Regions from separate parts of the Homo sapiens genome. Here region 2 is linked to region 1. The links are contacts of gene promoters, found by promoter capture Hi-C in human tissues and cell types (Jung and others, 2019). All regions are on one chromosome and are shown on one strand. Each heading gives the region's core, a stretch centred on a gene start or on the middle of the fragment in contact. The rest is flanking DNA. Distances are from core to core; before and after follow the strand shown. Region 1 holds the start of C8orf48 (chromosome 8 open reading frame 48). Region 2 overlaps LONRF1 (LON peptidase N-terminal domain and ring finger 1).

The links. The method cuts DNA at HindIII sites, captures the fragments that hold promoters and counts their contacts. A contact is called where the count stands out against the background at its distance.
Region 2: a contact is called between a fragment that was not itself captured here and the fragment with the promoter of C8orf48 in region 1, in 1 of the 25 tissues and cell types used here (hippocampus).

What each region holds. Positions count from the first base shown.
Region 1 is chr8:13,564,828-13,569,508 of GRCh38, reverse strand. It overlaps C8orf48 (chromosome 8 open reading frame 48), which reads right to left and starts at 2,640. Exons shown (of 1, transcript NM_001007090.3): 1 at 1,221-2,640. The coding sequence starts at 2,517. The coding sequence ends at 1,558. It also overlaps a transcript of DLC1 not described here. The HindIII fragment of the contact is 18,894 bases long and covers 1-4,681 here.
Region 2 is chr8:12,748,776-12,753,456 of GRCh38, reverse strand. The region is part of intron 1 of LONRF1 (LON peptidase N-terminal domain and ring finger 1); the gene reads left to right. Among named protein-coding and RNA genes, the nearest start is that of LONRF1, 4.4 kb to the left of the region's middle. The HindIII fragment of the contact is 4,489 bases long and covers 583-4,681 here.

The DNA of each region.
Region 1 (4,681 bases), core at 1,391-3,890:
AAACATGAATATATTGAGATGTCAAAGATAAAGCATGACATAATATGGATTTCAAATAAAAGGTTATTATGAAAATGGTAATGGTTATTTTCCATTTAGAATGACTTACTAAGGGGAAATATGCTAAATTTTATGGGGGAAAAAAATAGTATCTTTATACATAAATGAAGGTCTTAACGCAAAGAGTAATACTGAAGTACAATACTAAAACTCTTCTGTGCTGATTTTTGCAAACAAATTTCTTTTTCACTGAGATAATTCAGGTGTTGGACATGTAGAAAAGTGATCTCCAGGTAATGCCACTAATTCCATGGTTTTATATTTTTATAGAGGAAATAGATAATAAATGGCTTCTCAGAATGCCATCTAACATTTTTCTCCATAAATGTGTTTTCAAAATGCCATGGTATTCCTTGTGGAATAATACTGTTTCCTCATTACATAAATTTGGATGAACAACAGAAGGTTCATAAAATCTTCACGACCAAAATGGCTATCTAGATAATTTGTTTAAGCGTTCTTCTCTCAAAACTCAACACCTAACCCCAGCTTTACTTCTTCTTCCCCTTACAGCTAAATATTTCAAGGAGTACCCTATATCCATTCATTATTTACTTACATTTTTCCTCAATCTATTTTGTCTGCCCCATTTGTATAAGTGAAATGGCTTTTGCTAAGGTCAGCAGTGCCCAATACATGACTAAATCATCTTTACATGGCTTCTCTGTTGATTGATGTGGTTAGACAACTATCCTTCTTTAAATATTCATTCCTTAGCATCTATGACACTATACATTCCTGATTTCCTTGATCCACTTGATAACTTTTTTCACAATCTTTTCTGCAGGTTTATTTTTCTCTACTTAGCCATTAATTGGCATTTCTCAAGAGTTTGTATCAACCCTGCTTCTCTTCTTATTCATTTCCAAAAACGCTTGACAATCTACGGCTTCAACTTCCAGCTATATGCCATTGATCCCCACCCTTCCCCCAGTCCTACCCCAATTTATTTTGCACCTCTAGGCTATACCTTTCCTCTGAAGCGCAAAAACAAATAATCAAATGTTTCTTCAAACTGTCAATGTGTATGTCCCAAATGCACCTTATATGTCCAAATAATCATACTCTTCAACAGTTCCATCAAACATAGTCCTCTTCTGGTGTTCCTGTCTTAATGAAATTAATGATCATTCATCCGGGCGCACAAGTCAGAGCCTTAATAACATTTCAAACATCTACTATTTATTAATTCCCCATAGCCATTTGATCGCCAAAGACAGTTATTACTTTTTAAGTTTCTCTTACATCCCCATACTACTTTGCTTCTGTACCATCAACATCCTGGCCCAAACTACCAACATAGTTCTCTTGGAATTTTGTAAAAGTTTTTATAACTATTCCAACTACAACAGTGCCTTCTATAATAGGAAAAAAAAAGTGAAAGTTCTTAGTCCTCAAATCTGTGAAGGAAGCATAGTAAAGTCTTAAGTTAGTTTCCCAAGTGCCTGTAGAAATTATGGTAATTACTCAAATACACAACAAAGACATCTATCCACATTACACATTATCATTAACAATCACCAGCTCTGGTTTGATTAGAGTAAGTCGCTTGAGAAATGGCAGAGAAAATGGTAAATGACAAGCACTATTTCCATCTCGCTGCAACTTCTGCTCTGTCTCTGATCTTTCAAAACCAGAGTATCTGATATGACTTTTCTCAGTCAGTCTTTTCCAGATTATTCTGGGGTCATCTGAAAGCCTGGGAAAGTCTTGATGTGCTTCTCCAATACGGGTGAGAAAGTCTTTGGTATGAAGATGTTCATCTATTCTCTCTTGGAGTAGAAATGACTCCAGTAAAGTCTTCTTTTGTTTCAGAAAGGCAGACAGGGCCAGCTCCGCTCTTTTCCTGTTACAATAGGGACACTGATAAGATATGTGTTGCTTAGCTGCTGCCTCCTGTTTTGGCGTTGTCCTCATGTTTTTAAAGTAGATTCTGTTCAAAAGTTCATCGGGTACAGTACAACTAAAGGCATCTCTCTCTGAAGCCTCTACATCCAATCCAAGATGCAGCTTTTTATGTCTGCTGCTCGTCTTCTTCTTAGAATCCCCTCTACGATGAATCAAATTTATCTTCATGGTGCAATAAGACTGCAGGGCATTCAATTCTTCATCTGATACCCGAGTGATTTCTGTTGGAAGTTTGGTGTCTGGTTGGTGCCGTTCAAAGTTAGAGTCTTTGAGCTTGAGGTAGTTGATCCATTTTTTACTCAACTTCTTTTCATAATTTTTATAGTCCAAAAGCTCAGATTGTGTGTCTCCTTGTTCCAAGCTTGGAGTCTGCTTTTCCCTCTCCAGTTTGCTCCCAGAGGTCAGGGGCGAGGACTGCCGTCCTCCAGAGGAGCTGAATGAGCTGGAAGTCTGTACCTCATCAGTAGAGTTCTTCAAAGTCTCAGTCTCATCAGAAAGGTTTGCAAGAGCACTTTTGTCCGTTTGGGCCAATTCTGGGCAGATGGCCATCACAATGCATCAGGCTCGGCTCCTCATCTCCTTTGCCCAGGTTAAGACTGGCTCAGGAACCCGTCAGGAGCTGACCCCTCCGGGAATGGATCTCAATGCCATCAGCTCTGCGGAGGTCGTCTTCCGGGAGACGCCTTCCCAGCTGTCTTGGCAACGCGGGCCGCTCATGCGCAGTGACTGGCCACCATGCGGCGTCCCGCCTTTTCCTCCGCGCTCCCCAGCGCCCACTGCGCTTGCGCTGCTTGCGCCGGGTTGGCGATTTTGCCCTGTCTTCTGCACTCCTGCTTCTCTTTGGTGCTAAAGTCGAGTAGTCAACGGGAAAACCTTGCAAACTCTGTTTCCCAGGGGTCAGACAGGTGGCACACGTGTGTGAGACCAATAGAGTTAGGTGGCCTGTGACAAATCCGAACGTGTACGCCCGCCTAAATGCATCTAGATTTAAAAATCAAGCAAAACGCGCTGGACAAGATGCACAAGCAAAAACTTGTCTGCAGTGTTTATAGCCAAGAGACACCTCCTTGTAGAGCATGTCTTTGGGGAAAAGTCAAAATACAGAAACCATTCTGTAAGAAGTAGTGTTCTGTGCTCCAGCATTCTGAGGACCTCGAAGTTTGGGCGGGGTCGGGGGTGGGGAGCAGGGGCGGGGGAGGACCTTAATTTTCCAAATCAGTTTCTCTGGCCTTTTGTCCATACAGGTCCCCTCTGGCTAGCATATCCACGCCCGTCCTCACTCTTAATATCGTTAATTTATCCTCCTCCTCCGAGTCCCATTTCCTCAGGAAGGGCTTAATACCCACCCCTGCCTTAAACTCTTTCCAGCATTTTTTTTTAAATAGTGTCCAACTATGTGATTGTATGAGTATCTGATTATGAAGGCTGAAGGCAGAAATCATGTCGGTGTTGCCGACTAGTATGAGCCCAGCAATCAGCAGACACATAGCAGGTGTTCAAGAAATCTCTGTTGAGTGAATGGCTATGGAACAAATAAATCTTACCTTACACACGTCCAGAGGATTTGGAGAAATAAGTACTATAAGTTCAGGGAACTCTAACCTTTTTTCTAACTGAATCCCCAAACTTAGGCTATTACACAGGATATATTTTTTATTAATGGATTCATTTAAAAAACACAGTAGAGTTTTATTAATTATCGTGAGAAATTATAAAATGTTAACTCTAGAGATGGACTTTTCCTAGGTTATAATAGTTCTTGAGTCTAGGACTTAGTCAATGTCTAGGATAATTTTAAGAGCCTAGACACCCTTCTTTCTCAGTTTTGTCTCTCTCTCTCTTTCTTCCTGTGTTTCTTGGGGATTGGGGGGTATTATTCAGGTCTAGCCAGATATATTCCCCAAATGTTCATTCTGGCAAAAAGTGAAAGTCAAATATTCAAAAAGCATCTCTCAAGTATATGAGCCAGCTTCCTGTTGAAGATAAGGAGACTCCAACTTCATTTATTCAACCCAAATTTTATTTTATCATATAATGGTAGTCTTTAAAAAAGAGGTGGCATGTAATTTGTGAGTAACTCCAAGTAATTTCCAATAGGGCTCAATATTTTCCTTATTTATTATTTCAAATCTCTGCCTCATTCTCTGAATATTTACACATTCATATTTACACACTATTCATGTTTTAGCTATATCTTATCCATAACATTGAACAAGGGAGCTATACTTAAAATAAAATCTATCTGTGTCTTCTAACATGCCAAATGTCTGGGGTAATCTGTCTTTTTTATAATCGTGTCTTAAATTTCTCTTGATTTTTAAAAATAACTTTATCCTAGAAGGAGATATATGTGGGTGGGAAATTCTATAATTAATTTCCTTGTAATATTCAGCGTGACCCAGTGGACAGTTTTACATTCTAGTAAGTGTGTTATCTAAGGAAGAAAATTTCTCAACAGTACTATATTTATCAAATAAGATTCATGAAAACACAGGTCAAAGTTTGATTTTAAACAAATATGAAGAGTAATAGTTTTCCTTTGGAAATCTCAATCTTCTTGCCATCTCTCAGGGGCTGTTGGGAATGTCAAAATGCTTTGTGGACCAAGCTGTGGCTGAAGGCTGCTTGTGGTGGGGATTGGGAGATATGAAGAATAGAAAAGAGAGTCCAGTCAGGCTCTCTTGGCCTAACCTTGCTATGCCCCTCCTGTTAC
Region 2 (4,681 bases), core at 1,578-4,077, 820 kb after region 1:
CTTGTGTTACGCGTATTTCAAGATCTTAGTGTCTATCCATTGGCATGAAATGATAGGGGAATAATCCCCAAGAAAACAGACATCTAGAATAGCAACTGACTTTAGGTATTACAGGTAAATTTATAGACTGTGTAACTGAAAGGATCATCTTTCGGGTCATCTTTTGTCCCAAGTGCTTAGTCATATTGAACTAATGTCAAGATCTTGTGTTGTTTAGTATCTTTAGAGTTCGAAGCACAAACCCCGGAGATTTTTGTATTCTTTCAGTGCCTTCGTGAGGAGTAGGCAGGTATAAAATAGAAAGGTAGGCTCAGAACAAAAAAAAAGTATTTGGAATACAGAATTCTGATACACATGACTCTGCTTCTCTGGGTGAATAAAGAGAAGAGAAACTGGACTCAGTTGTACAGACCACCTAGTAACTGACCATGGTGTGATTTTTAAAGCGAGGAAGCAGATGCCAGGCAGTGAAGACTTGCACACCGTCACACTGTTAACTGGTAGAGAGGCAGTGCTGTATCTTCCGCTTCTCCTAAACGTTGGTCTAGGGTTCATCCTGCCTTATAGCACATGTTTAGTATACATATCCAAGGAAGTTTTTTTGGTCACTGAGGCTGAACCTTATGGACAGTACTGCTGATTTAGTGATCTGACCTTGAATTAGGGGTTTCACAAGAATCCAGGTCCTGGTCCATGGAAGAACAGTGAGCACTTTTGATAATTGAGGTCTAGCTTAACATTCTGTGACCAATAATATTTTAGTTAACAGAGATTCTGGTTCTTGGATCGAGGATATTATGTTTAACAGGAAAAGGCTCTGAAAGATGTAATCTCTCTTTTTTTCAAGTTGCATAGATTGCACATGAGGATTTTGCCCACTTAGCAACTTCATTCTACTTTTGCAGGAATAGAACCCAAGTCTTCTGACTTTCACTGCATTAGCTTATTTTTTCCTCATTTTTAGTTCTTTCAAGAATCATTAATTCCATGCTTGAAAATGTCTGAATGGCACTAATGAGGATAAGTTTTTTAATCTTTTGAATTCTTAATGTGAACTAACAGGAAAAAAATCTCAGAGCTAACAAATTAGAGTTGGTAAAGGGCCGATTTATAAGTGTCTCACAATTTATGGGTGTAAATCAAAATGTTAACTAGTACAGTCATAAGCTGTTTGTACAATCCTTAGGCTTTAACTTCTTTGGAATTGGCAAGCTAGGCATTTGACATGTATTTATATAACTGTACGGTTGTAGTTATTAATGATCTTGTCATTATTGTTGATAATGAAAAAAGATCTTCACTATAATTTCTTCGTATAATTCTTATAATGAAACAAGTAAATACTATTAACTAGAAAAAATCTAGTCTGCAGTTAGCCCACACACATCCAAACTTATCTCTGCCAGCAGCAAAAGAAAGCTTGAAAACCTTTGCCAAAATCAGAAGTTTCCCATTTAGATTACATAAGTTTCTGTTGAATTGAAATATATTTAGATAACATTTAAACCATTGATCTTTTGGTATTAACTCTCAGATGTTTCATAACTTTCTGTCTTTTTAGTATTCAGGGATATTATGTAAAGTTTTTCCTGCACTGAATCTCTGTGCTTGAGCCTACTGAAATGATCCCCCTAAGCCATGCTGCCTGCCTTTTGTGTTTAATGTTTTTTTACACTGACTTATCTCCTTCGTGTGTTCACCTCTCCCCCAGAGGAAGACAACAGAACAGTATAATTTACAGTTTGTACAGGTTAAAAAAAAAAAAAAAGGTTGTAAGGTGGGGGGGTGATATTTTGTTTTAAAATATTTGGGTAAGGAAAATTTTGTCTTTAATATTAATTCTGTAATGCTTGACCAGGCATGGTGGCTCAAACCTGTAATCCCAGCACTTTGGGAGACCGAGGCGGGCGGATCGCATGAGGCCAGGAGTTCGAGACCAGCCTGGCCAACATGGTGAAACCCCGTATCTACTAGAGATACAAAAAATTACCCAGGCGTGGTGGTGCATGCCTGTAGTTCCCGCTACTCCAGAGGCTGAGGCAGAATTGCTTGAACCCGGAAAGTGGAGGTTGCAGTTAGCTGAGACCACACCACTGCACTCCATCCAGCCTGGGCAACAGAGCAAGACTCAGTCTCAAAAAAAAAAAAAAAAAAAAAAAACATAAAAATAAAAATATAATCCTTGACTGTTACCCAGTATTTTTACATTATTTATATTAATATCATTTGATCTTCACAGAGAATTCTATGGAGTACTGTAATATTATCCTCAGAGGGAAACTGAGGCATCTATGGATAGACATGCAGTGTGGCTTAGTGATTAAAGCTCTGCATGCTGGAAGCTGACACCTGGGTTCCAATCCTGACGCAGCCCTCGCCTCTCTCCGACCTTGTGCACGTTGCCTAACCTATCTGTGTTTTGGTTTCCTTATCTGAAAAATGAGAATAGTCTCTACCTCATAGGGTGTTGTGAGAATCAAATGAGTCAAAACATGCTAAGTGCTTTAAATAGTGCCTGACACAGAGTAAATGCCCAGTAAATATTAATTCAATATTTTTAAAATGTAGAAGTGTGTTACGGCTAGAAGGGGATTTTGCTGAAAGTGGAATCTAAACCTTGCAATTTTACATCCTGTTCTGTTCTATCACTTGGTAGAGAGTAACAATTACATCCCGATTTTAGTTTACACATGTTAACTAGCAGTTTAGCATTCATCAATAAACTATAGATACTTAAAAGCTTTAGCTATCAGAAGATCAGTCAAATTATAGGTAAATACTGAATACATTTAAAGAAAATGTAGAGGGTTTTTATTATCTTTAGTAACTCAACTAGGTTAAAATGAAGAAATTTGAATTTAAACAATACAGTAGTTTCCCCTTATTTGTGGTTTCAGTTACCCACATGGTACAGTATGATAAAATATTTTGAGAGACCACTTTCATGTACGTTTTATCACAGCATATTGTTATATTGTTCTATTTTATCATCAGTTATTGTTGCTAATGTCTTACTACACCTAATTTATAAATTAAAGTTTATCACAGGTATGATAGTATATATAGGGCTTGGTACTATCTGAAGTTGCAGGCATCCGTGGGAGTCTTGGAACGTATCCCCCTTGGGTAAAGGGAGGCTCTTGCTAACTTATTTATGTCCTTACTTATTGTGCAGAGGACTTGAAACAGTAAACACTGATGTCTGTATGGTGATTATAGTTCACAATTATTTTCATTTCTATTATCGTAATTGATCCATACACAAACTCATGTGAGATAGGAGGGCAAGTATTAATATCCCTAATTCACAGATGTAAGAAAAGTTGCAAGAATTTTGGGTGACTTTCTTAAGGGAAGTAAGTGACCAAGTTAAAACTGAAAGCAGAACCCAAATATGTGCATATTGATTCAAAACACAAAGTTGATTTAAAAATTAGCACGCAAAACATAAATCTAAAATATTCTTACTATTCAGCAAATTTTTATTGAGTAGCTACTATATACCAGGCATTGTTTTAGGTGCTAGAAATATAAAAAAGGAGTAAAATAAAGTCCCTGTCCTTGTAGAGTTTGTATTTTTTGTTTCTTTTGTAATTGCAGCAAATTGAAAATCCCTAGAAAATGGGGTTTACTGCTTAATTGGCTTCTACTTAACCGAGACTATATCTCTAATTATTTTCTTTGATTCATAAGGTACTTTAAGGATTTTTTTTCTTAGTGCCTCAGGGTTACTAAAAAGATCAACTGTAATGGCTTTTGATATAAATGATAAAAAAACTGATTCAAGTGTCCCATTTCAAATGAATAATTTGTTTTTTAACTGTTTTTCATTCATCAAATGCAGAATTTACCAAAACTGAATTATCTTAGATTTCTAGTTATTTATATATTAACTTTTTGTTTATTCAGAATCATTTTTCTGTTTGTTGGAATATTTCTAAGAGCCTTGGAAAATCTCGAGTAAAATTTTAAATGAATTTGTATAGTGTTCTGCCTCTTTCCAAAGGTATTTCTCAAAATTGGAATTGTTTTATTATTGAAGTTGAATGACTTCAGGGAACTCTAAAATGCAAGATGGAAGCTTCTGTTTGGTTTTTTCTTTCCCTTTGGTAAGGTCTTTTGCTTCCCATCCCCTTGACCCACCTTTGTGCTGTCTGTTGTCCAGTCTGCTCTCCTGATCCCTAAAGATGTTTCTTATCTAGGCTACCATTTATGTGGGTAAAAGACAAGGTAGAAAATACTCTTCTGTATCTTGTATCAAGGGTTAATCTAATATCTTCATCACTTTGTTTTGAGATATTTTGGAATGTTATCAACAATTATTATAGATGGAGCATGTATGTCTTAGGTTTGGTGTTAACTGTTTAACATGCATTATCTTATTCAATCCTCACAGCAGTTATAAAATGTAGGTGTTTTAGAGGTAAGCATATTATAGGTCAGGAGAGTTCAAAGAGTTAAACTACCAAAAGGGGATCTGAACCCAATTTCTGAATCTAGTGTTAATGATCTTACTATCCCAAACTCCTACTCCTGAACATTCTTAATCAATGATCAACAGCTTATCACTTGGCAGCTTTGAGCTCAACCCTGGTAACCAAGTCATACTATACTGAACATAATGAAGCAATAGAAGCAAAAAAAAAAAATTGATATTCTGGTTAGCCTTTGAAAATTTCGA